Regions from separate parts of the Homo sapiens genome. Here region 2 is linked to region 1. Evidence: promoter capture Hi-C in 16 types of primary human blood cells and fetal thymus (Javierre and others, 2016). All regions are on one chromosome and are shown on one strand. Each heading gives the region's core, a stretch centred on a gene start or on the middle of the fragment in contact. The rest is flanking DNA. Distances are from core to core; before and after follow the strand shown.

Region 1 (6,687 bases), core at 1,766-4,265:
GCGTGACCCAGGCCACCAGGCACCAGAGGACCTGCTGGCCTCACCTGTCCTTGGGACTCCTCTGGGACCCTCTTTCCTGACCTCTGAGCTCTAGTCACATGGGCCTGATGATTGCATTCCAAGCAGCTGCTGTTTCCTCCGTCTGGACTGCCCCATCTCCAGGTCTTCACGTGACTGGCTCTTTCATGCAGCTCAGGTTCATCTCAAAGTTCACTTCCTCCGAGAGGACTTCCTGGACTACGCCATTAAAAATACTCCCTCACCAGACCACTGTCCCAGTCAGCAACACTCTGTCATCCTGATTAACTTCTTTCCAGGCTCACTGATCACTTTCTGAAACATCTTGTGCACTCATTGGTTGACTTGTTTATCTTCTCCCAGCACCTTCCCACCAGCTCCCTCATCCTCATGGAAGGAGCATAAGAACAGGGGCTTGATTTGTTTGATTCTCTCATATTTCTCCAGCATATGCCATGCTGTAAGCATTCAATACATGAACTTATGCTGCCTATTTTACTGCTTTTGTTTGTGATTTTATGAGGCTGATGAGGTTGTTATATAATGTTTCTATAAATTATAAGGTGGGATGTTATTAAATAATTGTTTCCTGTCATTGTGATCCTCATTAGAGGTTCAGCCAGATCATTCCAGGCTCCTGAGTGTCCCTGCCCAGAGCTGAGGACCAGGGCCATTGCAAGCAAAGGTGCTGTGTGTCAGGTGAGGAGATGTGGACAAGTTTCCCTGCTCCTTGGTCTAAGGTCTTTCTGAGAGTATGTCATAAGGGAGACAGAGAAGGGTTGATTTATTTTGGAGAGGAAGAAGTAAGGAATCACTAAAGGTCCCCAATATTCCCAGGCCATGCTACTGTTTCTAAACGTGCCTAGCTGACTCCTGACCAGCTAGAATAGCAAGAGTGACTCCACCCAAGAGTGTCTAGCCCAGGGGTCCCCTGATCCTGGGCTGCACCCGGAAACCAGTCTGTGGCCTGTTAGGAACCTGGCCCCACAGCAGGAGGTGAGTGGCGGGCCAGCATTACTTCCTGAGCTCTGCCTCCTGTCAGATCAGCAGAGTCATCAGATTCGCATAGGAGCAGAACCCTATTGTGAACTGCATGTGTGAGGGACCTAGGTTGCATGCTCTTTTGAGAATCTTATGCCTGATGATCTGAGGTGGAACAGTTTCGTCCCAAAACCATCACCCCTCCAGCCTCCTACTTCCCACGTCCATGAAAAACTGTCTTCTATGAAACTGGTGCTTGGCTGGTCTAGCCTTATTCCTTAATAGACTGGTCAGGGGTGACTAATTTTTTCTGCAAAGGACCAATAATTAATATTCTTTGCTTCTAGGCTAACCTCTGCCATTGTGGCACAAAAGCAATCATAGACAATCTGTAAACTAAGGGGCAGGGCCAACTGTAGTTTTCCTGAACTGTGGATTAGAAGGGGGGTCTCCCAACACCTCAGATCCATTCTGGCCTCAGCATGGCTCTCCTTCTGGAGGTCACAAAACCTCTTTAGTTTCAGAATCACAGTGGCATGAGGCAGGGTAGGGAAAATTACATTTGGGAAGAAGGCACCTAAAGCTAGGTGGCATGGACAAAATACAATTGAATAAGGATCCCAGTATCCTGAGTTATTTTGAATTTAGTTCATCTAAAAGTGGGCTAAAGTCAAAAGAAGTTCAGTTCAACATGGTTGTGCTGGGCATCAGCTGTGCTGTTCATCTGCGGGGCTGATATTTAAGTGTTTAATGACTGGTATGGCCGGGGAACTGACCAGTTAATAAGGATGAGTGGCAGAAACAATCGGTAGGGACATGCCATTGCACATGGGTGCAAATCAGCTCTACGATGCAGACAGCCAAGCGGTACACAGGTGCAGCCTGGCAGTCAGGAAAGCAGCCCTGAGGCGGAGCTGGTGATCACAGATGTGCTGTAATGTTGGCAGACTCTTGAAAGGGAGGCCTGTGTGCAAAAGCATTTCCTCTATATATCTTTCACTAATGTTGGAAATTCCATCCGTAGACATCCATTTCTTTAGGTTAAGGATGCCACCCTTCTTTTAAAAACAAAACACGCTTGGAAGCATATATATATATATATATATATATATATATATATATATATATATATGTAGAAATCATTTTGAGTCAAGCAGTCTTTGTGAAATATTTGAATATGGATCATTTCTATCAGACCCTTTCCAGCAGTCATAGAGGAGAGATCTCAAAAGAGGAAAATACACAAAGTTTAAGTACATAAACGTTGTACTTTGTACTTACTACATAAACTTTGTTATGTACTTTGTACATAAACTTTTACTTCATTGGGGAATATGCTTTAGGGAGAAAAGGCCTTCAAATGAGAAGTGGGTTGGCACCCAGGAAGAACTTAGTCCACTTTAAATTTTGATCAGGGTTACCTTGAATATAAGAGCCATTTAAAAAGTGGAAACACAGGAAATCTCCTTGTTGTGACCGCTAAAGCTTAGCACTAAATTCACAACCTGCCTCTAGCGTGTGGATTATGCCTCGGTTTTTATTTTTCTGCTTCTATTTTTCCTCCTACATCATTCCCGGGAAGTACTTGTTTGCTCCTTTTATATTGCATGGTTTTCACAAGCCACCTGGAATTCTTTATGAAGCAAGATAGCTAGGTAGATATATCCTCATGTATTTATTCAGTCATGTAACATGGTACACCTAATATGCACCAGACACCAATCTAGGTGGACAGAAGATAGCATCAGTTAGACTTCAATGGACTTATATAAAATGATTTTAAAAGAACAATAGAATTTTTTTCTTATTTTCTCACTATGCCCTTTTAGGTTTTCTAGGGCAGAGGAGCAAGAAGGAATTGGGCAAAAATTCACAAACCTGTGCGAGGCGGTAGTTGTTCCTCCAGGTCCTGGGGGAGGCTGCAACTAGGGAGGGGGCTGCAGTGGAAAACTTCAAAGCCATGATGAGGAAGACAGCAAGGCCAGATGCAGGGAGCACCTTCATCCCCTCACAGTAGCTTGGTAATTATATCAGCCTGGGGGATGGCAGACAGTGCACGTTTGCACTTCGACCTTGAGCTCCTTTTATAGAGTCAAACAGGTCTGGACCCTCCGAGCAAGGATGATTCATGTCTCAAACAGTAATTATACAGCTCATTTCTCTCCCTGATGATGGGGTAACACAACTGTACACAGGAATCAGGGAAAGCTTCATATTTTTTTTGTTATTTACCAAGTGGCAAAAGGAGAAAAACAGTCACTTTTAATGAAGTTGGTCAGCTAGTTACAAAAATTGAAGTAAACTTGATTGATTTGAACCCAACTCAACTGAAACATTTGATTAGTCTTCATTTGGGGGCCTTTTTCCATTCTGATTACAGAAAAGTTAGATGATTACAGTATAATTGAATTTGTCCTCCAAGTAATCCCAAACTCCCCATGCATTCAACCCAATCGCCTGTATCTCCTGCATTCACTTCAAAATTTCTTAGTAGCAACTGCTGTTCATAATGATGGCTCTGAGACACATAAGATCCTGAATCATCAAGGCAAGATTACATTATACTGTGCTGACTTAGGGTGGAAAGTGAACTGGTAACTGTTAGAAAGCTTTTGGATGAATTAAGGCAAGAGTTACGTCTTCGTTAACCAAAACAATAGCCAGAACTCCCCAATCTCTGTGTACTCTGGTTAATTGGAGTCATATTGTTTTTCCTGGGTCTGATTAAGATGGATTTGGATCCAGAGATGATACGGTGAAATGGTGTCATATGGTGGGAAAAGCACTTAGAGTCAGACAAAGCAAGACTAAATATTTAAAAAGATATTTCCTAGCTGTGTGATGTTGGGTATGTCATTTAATCTCTGAATATCAAGTTTTTTTTAATCTACAAAAGACTGACAATACTACTACTATGTATAAACTTTTCAGTGTTATGGAGTAACACATATAGCATGACATCTGCAAGCACCACTTGGCATCCACTAGATGTGGATTCAAATCCTAATTTTGATTTTAGACTAAATTCAAGGTTATTCCTATAGTGAATACAGTGAATTCCTATAGTCTTTCTCACTCTGTTGCATTTTGATATGCTTTCTTTGCATGGAAGAGAAGATGGTGGAGTTACAGCCAATGTTTGGTATCTAGTGTACAACCCCAGGCACTGAACAAGAGTTTGTCACACATTAATATGGTTTGGCTCTGTGTCCCTAACCAAATCTCATCTCGAATTGTAATCCCCATGTGTTGAGGGAGGGAGGGGATTGGATCATGGGGGTGGTTCCGTCATGCTGTTCTCATGACAATGAGTGAGTTCTCACAAGATATGATGGTTTTATAGGTGTTTGAAAGTTCCTCCATTGATCTTCTCTCTCCTGCTGCCTTGTCAAGAAGGTGCCTGCTTCCCCTTTGCCTTGCACCATGATTCTAAGTTTCCTGAGGCCTCCCCAGCCATGTAAAACTGTGAGTCAACTAAGCCTCTTTCCTTTATAAATTACCCAGTCTCGGGTATTCCTTTATAGCAGTGTGAGAATGGACTAATACACACAGGCAAACAGAATTTCTGGCATGTACTGTGAGATAGACAAAACATGTGTCTCAGAAGAAGAAAAAAGAAAACCACAGATTAGATTCATTCAACTAAATTGTAAGCTGTTTGAAGACTGTATTCTAAAAAATGTTACTTAATCAAGTTTGTTAAAAAAAAAGAATGAATGAATGTACAAACATATACTAATCATTGCTTTTTGGTTTCAGGAAAGGAATAGGATATTGCAATAATTTTTCAAAATTTGCATTTATATGGTCTCCTGTCTTCTAGAGCCTTATCTTCAACAGCTGCTAAAATTGAAGAACAAAAAGAATCTTTGAAACTTCCCTTCAACTGGTCATCCTCTTCCCTTTTTCTCTCCTTTAAACACTGTTCCAATTCATTATGATGGCCCCAAAGCAAAGACAGACATGGAAGTGAACATTGGAGTGGAAGGAATGACGGTAAGAAATTCTGGGACCAATAGAGAGAAAATATTCTCACCTCTAGGACTCTAAAGAGTATTCTAGGTTCTGTTTTTGGAAGCACATGGAAGTTAATAATTGCCTATAGGGTGTGATCTACATACTTATAGAAGGTTCCAGTATCCACTTTTCTAACACACAAATGCAATCAATCCCAATGTTCCTAAGTGCAACATTTTAATTATCAAGTGCAAAAATTTTGAAGAGGAATAACAATTTATGTTCTTATAAGTCATTTATATATTAGTGTGACTAAATTTCACCTCAGAGTCAGCACTAGGCAACATCTTTGACCTTTCTAGAGAGAGAATAATAGAGTAAATGCCTGGTAATTCCTCACTATGATTTCCTTTTCCTGATTTTTCTTTCTTCACAGGGGAGCAAAGGTCTGCTTTCTTTCTATCATTCTTGTATCAACTCTAAATTGAAACCCAAATCACTGAAATCTAAAAAATCACATGAAAGCAAGTCAATGACTAAAAGAAAATGAAATGAGAGATCCTATCAGAGAAATATGAAAGGGAAAATACCACTGATTAAATAAGTTATGGGAAAAATAAATCATTACACCATTAAATGTATACGTCGACATACTGTATGTTGTTATGTGCTTATTGTCTTTCACCAGTAGAATGTAAGTCCCATAAGGGTAAGGACTTTATATATTCTTTTCACAGCAGTGTCTCTAGTGCATGGAACAGTTCCTAGCACAAAATAAACAGTTGTTGAATAAGTGAATGTATGAATGAGTGATTAATTAATGATTAAAGATAGAAAGAAGAAAAACAAGATTGTCCTTAGAGGGATAAATTTTAAGTCAACCCATATAATGGATCAAATGAAGATGTGTAGCATCACCCTAAGAAACCAGAACCTTTATTAAACCCACATTATATGCCAGACATGTAGCCAAGTACCTTATGTACATTTTTCACACAACTTTGTGACACGCTGTTTTTCAAGTGAAGAAATGGGCTCATGGAGGATAAATGATTTGTTAACTTCATATAGATATTAAGGCGACGGCTCCAGGATTTTCACACAGCTCTGTTAGACATTGAAGCCTGTGTTCTTAACAGTTACAGGAAGCATACGTTGGTGCCTTCGTGGAGCAGTGACTTGGGAACATGGTATTTCAAGGTGGCTGGCAGGGAGATCCCTAGGCTTATTCCAGCTGCCCTGCAGCTCCCTGGCACTCCCGTGTGTCTGGCCTGAGCAGAAGTTGGGCTGACCAGACTGCGCAAGCTCCCTGGCTGGTGACGATGTTTCTTATTGCAAATGACTCCTTTGTTACTCTGGTTTCTGTTTTTCAATCTTCAGTGAATTTAACTTTCATAAATGATTAAATTTCTAGATTTCCAAAGAGTTCAGTTACAACCTGGTAAATTTTTCAGAGTAAGGGATGCTTCCCATTGAGGCAGGATTCTGAGTGATCAGTCACCAGCTACGTTTTATTCTATACCCAGACTTACCATGGCCCTTCTTTCAAATGACTCCAGTAAATATATACCACTTTGAATGGCCAACTCTAAAAAAAGTTTATTTATATAACTTGTAAATCATATCATATTCTATTTTGTAATGGTTTTTTTAAGTTTAGAAATTTATGATTAGAATACAGAATAACATGAACCATATTCTCAATTTCTAGAGCACACATATTCTAGAATC
Region 2 (6,687 bases), core at 1-2,500, 710 kb before region 1:
GCTGAAGTGAAGGATGCTGGCGGGGAGGCCCGGAACCCGGAGCGCGGTCGGGGAACTGGGCACTGAATCATCGGACAACCTCGACAGAGCCCCCCTCGGCCCTCGGGAGAGCGGCGGGCATCACCGACCTGGCTCTTACCTGTATCCTTCCCAGCCTGTGGCTGCCAGGGTAGCGATGTTGAAAACGGGGCCCATCTTTTTCCAATTAGATTCCCATTACCTTTGACGCAGGGTGATCAAAACTAGCAAGTCATCTTAGTGCAGATATTTCCTTTAGCAACTGTCGTGTCTCACCTTAGACCTGAAATTATACCATTTTATCTAATTCTGTGGCTGCTTCCCCCCATCACCCTGTTATCCTACTCCCATTCTTCAACTTTGTAAAATTTTTGTGAATTTTAAAACACATCAACTGTGTATTCTGTGGGGATATTTTTATGCCATTATGTTCTTTACTTACATATTAACTACTTCCTGATTTATCGTACTACTTGGAGAGAGAAATTACACAAATAAGTAAAATGTTTTGCTATCCTAAAGAGTCCGTTTTAACAGTTATCCTAACACAGCCCTAAATGCATTTACCAGAGCTGCTAAAGGCTACACAGTTTGGTAAGTTGTTTTGTTTTCCATCTCTGCCCAGTCTGTTGTCAGAGCGACAGAAAAGAGGAAATGAGAAACAGGGGACCTGGACGCTTTACAATCTGGATTAACTCTGACTTTTCTCGAAGAGTTGGTTAAGCCTACCTTTGATGTTGCTGTTGGTTGCATTGTAGAAAATGGAAAGAGGAGAAGTATTTTGTTATCAAAATCTGTAAATCAGGTTTATTCCTTTAGAGACTGTTGTGATGATTAGGATTTAACCTTTGTATTCCCAAAGGACTTGGTTGGCAATGATGGTGTTGTGTAATCATCTTCAGTCTTGTCAGAGATGAGTGTCTTCTCTTTCCAAGTTAACTCTGTTTTCTTATCCCCTTTGTCTCCAATTTCTAGGATGTTCTTTGTACTCTGTTACAATTTTAGCAGCAAGTCAACAATTTGTATTGAGTGCCTGCTCTTTGGCTGACTCTGTTCTAGGTTCTAGGGATACAAATCTAGTGAGGAAGACAAATGTGTATAGAGCTTCACTAAAAGTAAAATATCTCTTCTCCGATCATGCTTTCTGCAATCTTCCATCCCTTCAGTCTTTTCTTTCTTTGGGCAGGTTCTCAAAATGGTAGCTTGCAATAGCTGCTTCTAGTTCCTCTCATCTATTCATTATTAACCCCATTCAGTTTGGCTTTTGCCCTTGCTGCTCCCCAAAATTGCCCTCTTAAAGGTTACTCTGAAATGAACACAATCATTTTCTGTATGGATTTAATTCTGGCCTCTTGACATTATATTTTCTTGGACACAACTGCTATTACACGACCCTGATTTATCTCTAAATCAGAAAATAGGGAAGTATTGTAAATGGCTCATTGAGAGTGTATTTTCTGTTATTTTCATTAATAAAATGGTTGTAGGCCTCATTTTTTAAATTTTATGTGGTATAAATTTTTGATACAAATGCCAAAGAAAATATTCATAAATAGAATCCAGCAATACTTTGAATGAACACAACCAAATAGACTCTATTCCAGAATTAGAATGACATTTCCTATAAAGAAATACAACACTAAAAAAGATCCTTAAAGGCTAAATATATAGTTAAAATTAGGCAAGTTATAAATGAACATTTTAATAGATGACCAATAGACTTTGATAAAATCCAACAATGTGTGTGTGTGTGTGTGTGTGTGTGTGTGTGTGTGTGTGTGTGTGTGCTGGTTTATATATATTTTTGCTAGTTTGCATATGTGTGTATATATATGTTTAGATAATATATATTTAAATTGGAACAGAGGAATTATTTTTGAACATAATAAAGATTATAACACTAAATCAAGAACATTATGTTTGCTAGCTGGAAAAACACTAAAGTACCTTTTATATAAGTTTAATTGGAATGTTCTTTGTGTCTATAATGTTTCCCATTGGATACCTAGCACAGAGTAGGTGCTCAAATTTACATGACTAAATGAAAAAAAGGAAAGAAAGCAAATGAAAGGACCACAGCCTTAAAATAAGCAAGTATGTGGTAACATTTACATTTCAATTTCAAATATGAACATGATACTCAGAGGCCATCTGGCTTTCTGTTGAAGACATTTTCTCACTGGAGTCAGAATTTTCTGACTCTAAAGGTTATAAAACAACAAAACCTTATGAAGTTTATTTAATTAAAATTAGCTAAAGTTCTGTCATTTCAATCTCTTTTTCTCTTTTGAGAGTTCAAATAGAAATGGAATTTAAAAAAAAAAAAAAAAGGAAGGTCTCTCATGTCCCCTTATACCTGCCTTTTTTTCCTCATAAATATCTCTACCCTTCAACCCTCCCATTTTATCCTAGCACCCACCTTGCCTCTCCTTTCCTCTCCAGTTTATACCCTATTCTTAACTATTTGAACTTTCTCTCACCAACATCTTTGGCTATTTGTACCCCAATCATTCTGCCTCAGCCACTCAATAACTACTATAGTCCTGCTCCTTTACTCCTTCATGCGAATAATAAAAATGCTGTCAAAGAAAAATCACAAAACAATACAGATTGTACCACTAAAGATTGATGGTTTCCAGCTTCACCTAAACAGGAACAGGGTTCTTTCTTTTTCCTATGAATGCCTCTGCCAGGTCTCTGTCACCTTCCATCACACTCGATAGACTGTCTTACCACTTGATAAGACTTGGATGCCCTGACAGGTCTGTTCCAACAAACAGCACAAACACACACACTCCCACCCACCTGTCTTTTTTTCCCCCCAGGCTCACTGATGGGATCTTACTTTTACTATAGAAAGTGAAGTGAACCCATTCAGCTGGGCCCAGTGGCTCACATCTGTAATCCTAGCACTTTGGGAGGCCGAGGTAGGCAGATTGCTTGAGTCCAGGAGTTCGAAACCAGCCTGGGCAACGTGGTGAAACCATATCTCTACAAAAAATACAAAAATTAGCTGTGTGTTGTGGTGCATGCTTGTAGTACCATCTACTTAAGAGGCTGAGGCAGGAAGATTGCTTGAGACTGCGAGGTGGAGGTTGCAGTGAGCCGAGATTATGCCACTGCACTCCAGCCTAGGCAACAGAGTGAGACCCTGTCTATAAATAAATAAATAAATTGTATTTTGCTAATACATACATAATAAAACATAGTTTTGTACCTTGTGTTTCTAAAAGGTACTGCCCCATGCTCATGAGATTTTGAAACTTAGGTACATAATACATTTCTAATGGCATATACTTTTGTATAACCCCCTTAGGAGCCAAGTTTTCTATAATGCACTAAAAGATATAAAAATGCATATGCCTTTTGTCCTCATATCTACCCCAGAGAATTTTCTCCAAGGGAATAATTCAGGAGGTTTTTATTAAATCATTACTATATTCTAAGAACCATGCCAGGCGTGAGAGTTACAGAAATGTAGAGAAGACACTTATCATGTACTCATGAAGGTGTCATCAAGTCATCTAGTGGAGGTTAGAAAAGGCTTCAAGGTAGAACGAACTGCTTGAGATGGCCCTGAAAGGATGAGTAGAGTTAGCCAAGCATGTGCCAAGAGATAATGGTATGATACATCACGGGTTGTTCTGTTTATAATTATCTTAGTGCGTCTGGACATAGGATTCATACAGGGAAATGTTAAGAAATAAAGTTGAAAAAACAAACTATATTATAGAATGGTTTATATATAGGTCCAAGAACTTTGGAATTTTTCATGAAGGTGATAGGGAGCTTTTGGAGAACAACAAAGAGAAACACAATCAGATTTGCATTTAGCTGACTTTGTGTAGGTTCAAATAGAGGTTTAGAGTAAGAAGAATTAGAGGAGCACTGTAGTCGTCCAAGCAAGGGATTTAGAGTACCTGAGTTAAGGGAGAGGAAGAAGGTACAGTAGAGGAAAAATCGAATCAACATAGCTTTAATAGATTTGGGGAAAAAATGGGTTATATAATACATAGTTATTTGTGATGGCAACATTTTAAACAACCTAACTGGATAAAAGACTAAGTTGGGAGAGGAGAAGTGAGGATAGAGTGGGGTAGAATAAGCTATGCTTTAAAATCACATGTTACAATACATATTATTCTTGGTTTTGTTTTTTTAATGTTAAGTATATAAAAATTCCCTTCTTTTGGACAGGTATTTAGCAGTGTTTTTTTTATGGAACTCCTACCTTTACCATACAGCTTGTATAAAAAAACAAAATTTAACCAGCCATCTAATTTTTTTAAACTTGAATACCATATTTGAAATGATACAAAAGCAGCAGGATTCTTTATATTAATAATTAATAATTCAGCAGGAAACATACTATACTATTATACTTATATATAAAGAAAGTAGAAAATCATTTGGTTAAATTGAAGACTATATAGTTGTCAGAACATTACAAACATTACATTTGTGATTTTCTTTATGCTGTCGTGATGAGACTTCAAACATGTCAAACAGAGAACAGAACTGTCTCCTCCTTGCTTCTCACTTAAGCCAAAGCATCTTCCTCCCCTCAACCTCATGTTGGCCCTGTGCACCCTGAAAGGAAGTTGCACTTTTCTTTACTGCCGAGTTGTCACTTTTAATACCTAGACATCTTGTTGAAGTCTGGCTCTTGTTAAAATATTCTATCAGAGAAAAACAGTTTTTCTGTGCTAGCAAAGAACCAAATTTTCTTCCCTTTTGGTTTGATTTTTATAAATCCTTTAAAAGAAATCTTTAAGTAAAAATATGTTTGTGAGTGTGTTTGGGTCTTTGTCTTGAAGTAGTGTAAAATTTTATTTAAAATGAAGGTAAAATGAATTATGGCCTATGGTATAAAGATGGTTAAATAGCAACACAAAAGAAAACAAATAAGCCCCCATCAGCAAAGGTCTAAACAACAAAATGTTCAAATAAACCTGTTATTCTGAAATATGTAATAATAGAGTTTCTTTATAATATTGATGCTGAAGCACTATAGGATCCTGAAATTAACATGTTGAATTAACAAATTATGTACCGCATAGTTTATTATTGAGTGTATTTCTAGTATTCTGTTTTACCATTAATAATCAATTTATGAGATTTTTACAATCTTGATTAAATGCAGCCTTTAAAGAGAATTTTGGACCTCCATCTTAGCGTAAAAAGTTTTTAAACAAGCTGTTTGTTCTAAAAAAGACAAATAGATATGCCCTACAATCTATAACTTCAGTATAATCTCATATATTTCTACATCTAATGATGAGGTACTAAATGTGATTACACGGTAATTCAATGAACTTTTTTTTTTTTTTTTGAGACAGAGTCTCGCTGTGTTGCCCAGGCTGGAGTATAGTGGCGTGTTCTTAGCTCACTGCAGACTCAACCCCCTCCAAGCTCAAGCGATCTTCCCACATCAGCCTCCCAAGTAGCTGGGGCTGCAGGCATACACCACCACACCTGGCTGATTTTTGCATTTTTTGTAGAGCCGGGGTTTCACCATATTGCCCAGGCTCATCTCAAACTCCTGGGCTCAAGCAGTCTGCCCACCTTGGCCTCCCAAATTGTTGGGATTACAGGTGTGAGCCACTGCGCCCAGCCAAATGAACTTCTTTTAATTCAAAATCATTAAAAACAGAAGACTCATGAAAAACAGAAAATTACTCTGACAAATTTGATAAAGATACTTAATAATGTCAATTAAAACGCAACTAAATAAATTGGAGAAATTACTCATATTGCTACAACTTATTTAAGGAGAGTTTAATTTTATAAAATAAATTTCAAGTGAATAGATGATTAGGATAACCAAAATATTCCTCTTTTTCTCTGACAAGCTTCTGGATACACAGATGACTATACATAGTTTTCCTAGTGGTTTTTTATAACCACTAAGTCACTAAGTAAATAACTAAACTGTATTCCTAACCATTCTAGTTATATTGCTATTTGATTGTTTAATATTTGAAAATGTACTTTCCTACTATAGATTAAGGGATCTGGTGAAACATTTACTCCATCTACTTTCTATTAGTAAAATACAATCTTCTTATTTCATTTTCTTATATTCATGACTATGAGGGCAACTTGTTAGTAAGTACTCAAATATCTGTGTAATGAGGCCAAGCACGGTGGCTCACGCCTGTAATCACACCACTATGGGAGGCCGAGGCAGGTGGATCACCTGAGGTTAGGAGTTCGAGACCAGGCTGACCAACATGGTGAAACCCCGTCTCTACTGACAATACAAAAATTGACTAGGTGTGGTGGCACATGCCTGTAGTCCCAGCTACTTGGGAGGCTGAGGCAGAAGAATCACTTGAACCCAGGAGGCAGAGGTTGCAGTGAGCTAAGATCATGCCACTGCACTCCAGCCTGGGCAACAGAGTGAGACTCTGTCTCAAAAAAAAAAAAAAAAAAACTGTGTAATGAATGAAGATATACAGTCCTCTTTATCTGAAGTTCATGATTTCTTTTTTTTTTTTTTTTTTTTTTTTTGAGATGGAGTTTCGCTTTTGTTGCCCAGGCTGGAATGCAGTGGCGCAATCTCGGCTCACTGCAACCTCTGCTTCCCAGGTTCAAGAGATTCTCCTGCCTCAGCCTCCTGAGTAGTTGAGATTACAGGTACCCGCCACCACGCCCGCCTAATTTTTG

Evidence for each region. The method cuts DNA at HindIII sites, captures the fragments that hold promoters and counts their contacts. A CHiCAGO score of 5 or more calls a contact.
Region 2: the fragment with the promoter of ANGPTL5 here is called in contact with the fragment with the promoter of MMP20 in region 1 in 1 of 17 cell types (activated CD4 T cells); the score reaches 5.3 in activated CD4 T cells.

The regions. Positions count from the first base shown.
Region 1 is chr11:102,622,317-102,629,003 of GRCh38, forward strand. MMP20 (matrix metallopeptidase 20) reads right to left here and starts at 3,016. Exons shown (of 10, transcript NM_004771.4): 1 at 2,878-3,016. The coding sequence starts at 3,003. The HindIII fragment of the contact is 723 bases long and covers 2,483-3,205 here.
Region 2 is chr11:101,915,272-101,921,958 of GRCh38, forward strand. ANGPTL5 (angiopoietin like 5) reads right to left here and starts at 1,251. Exons shown (of 9, transcript NM_178127.5): 1 at 748-1,251. It overlaps CEP126 (centrosomal protein 126), which reads left to right. Exons shown (of 11, transcript NM_020802.4): 1 at 1-141. The coding sequence starts at 14. The HindIII fragment of the contact is 9,032 bases long and covers 1-5,868 here.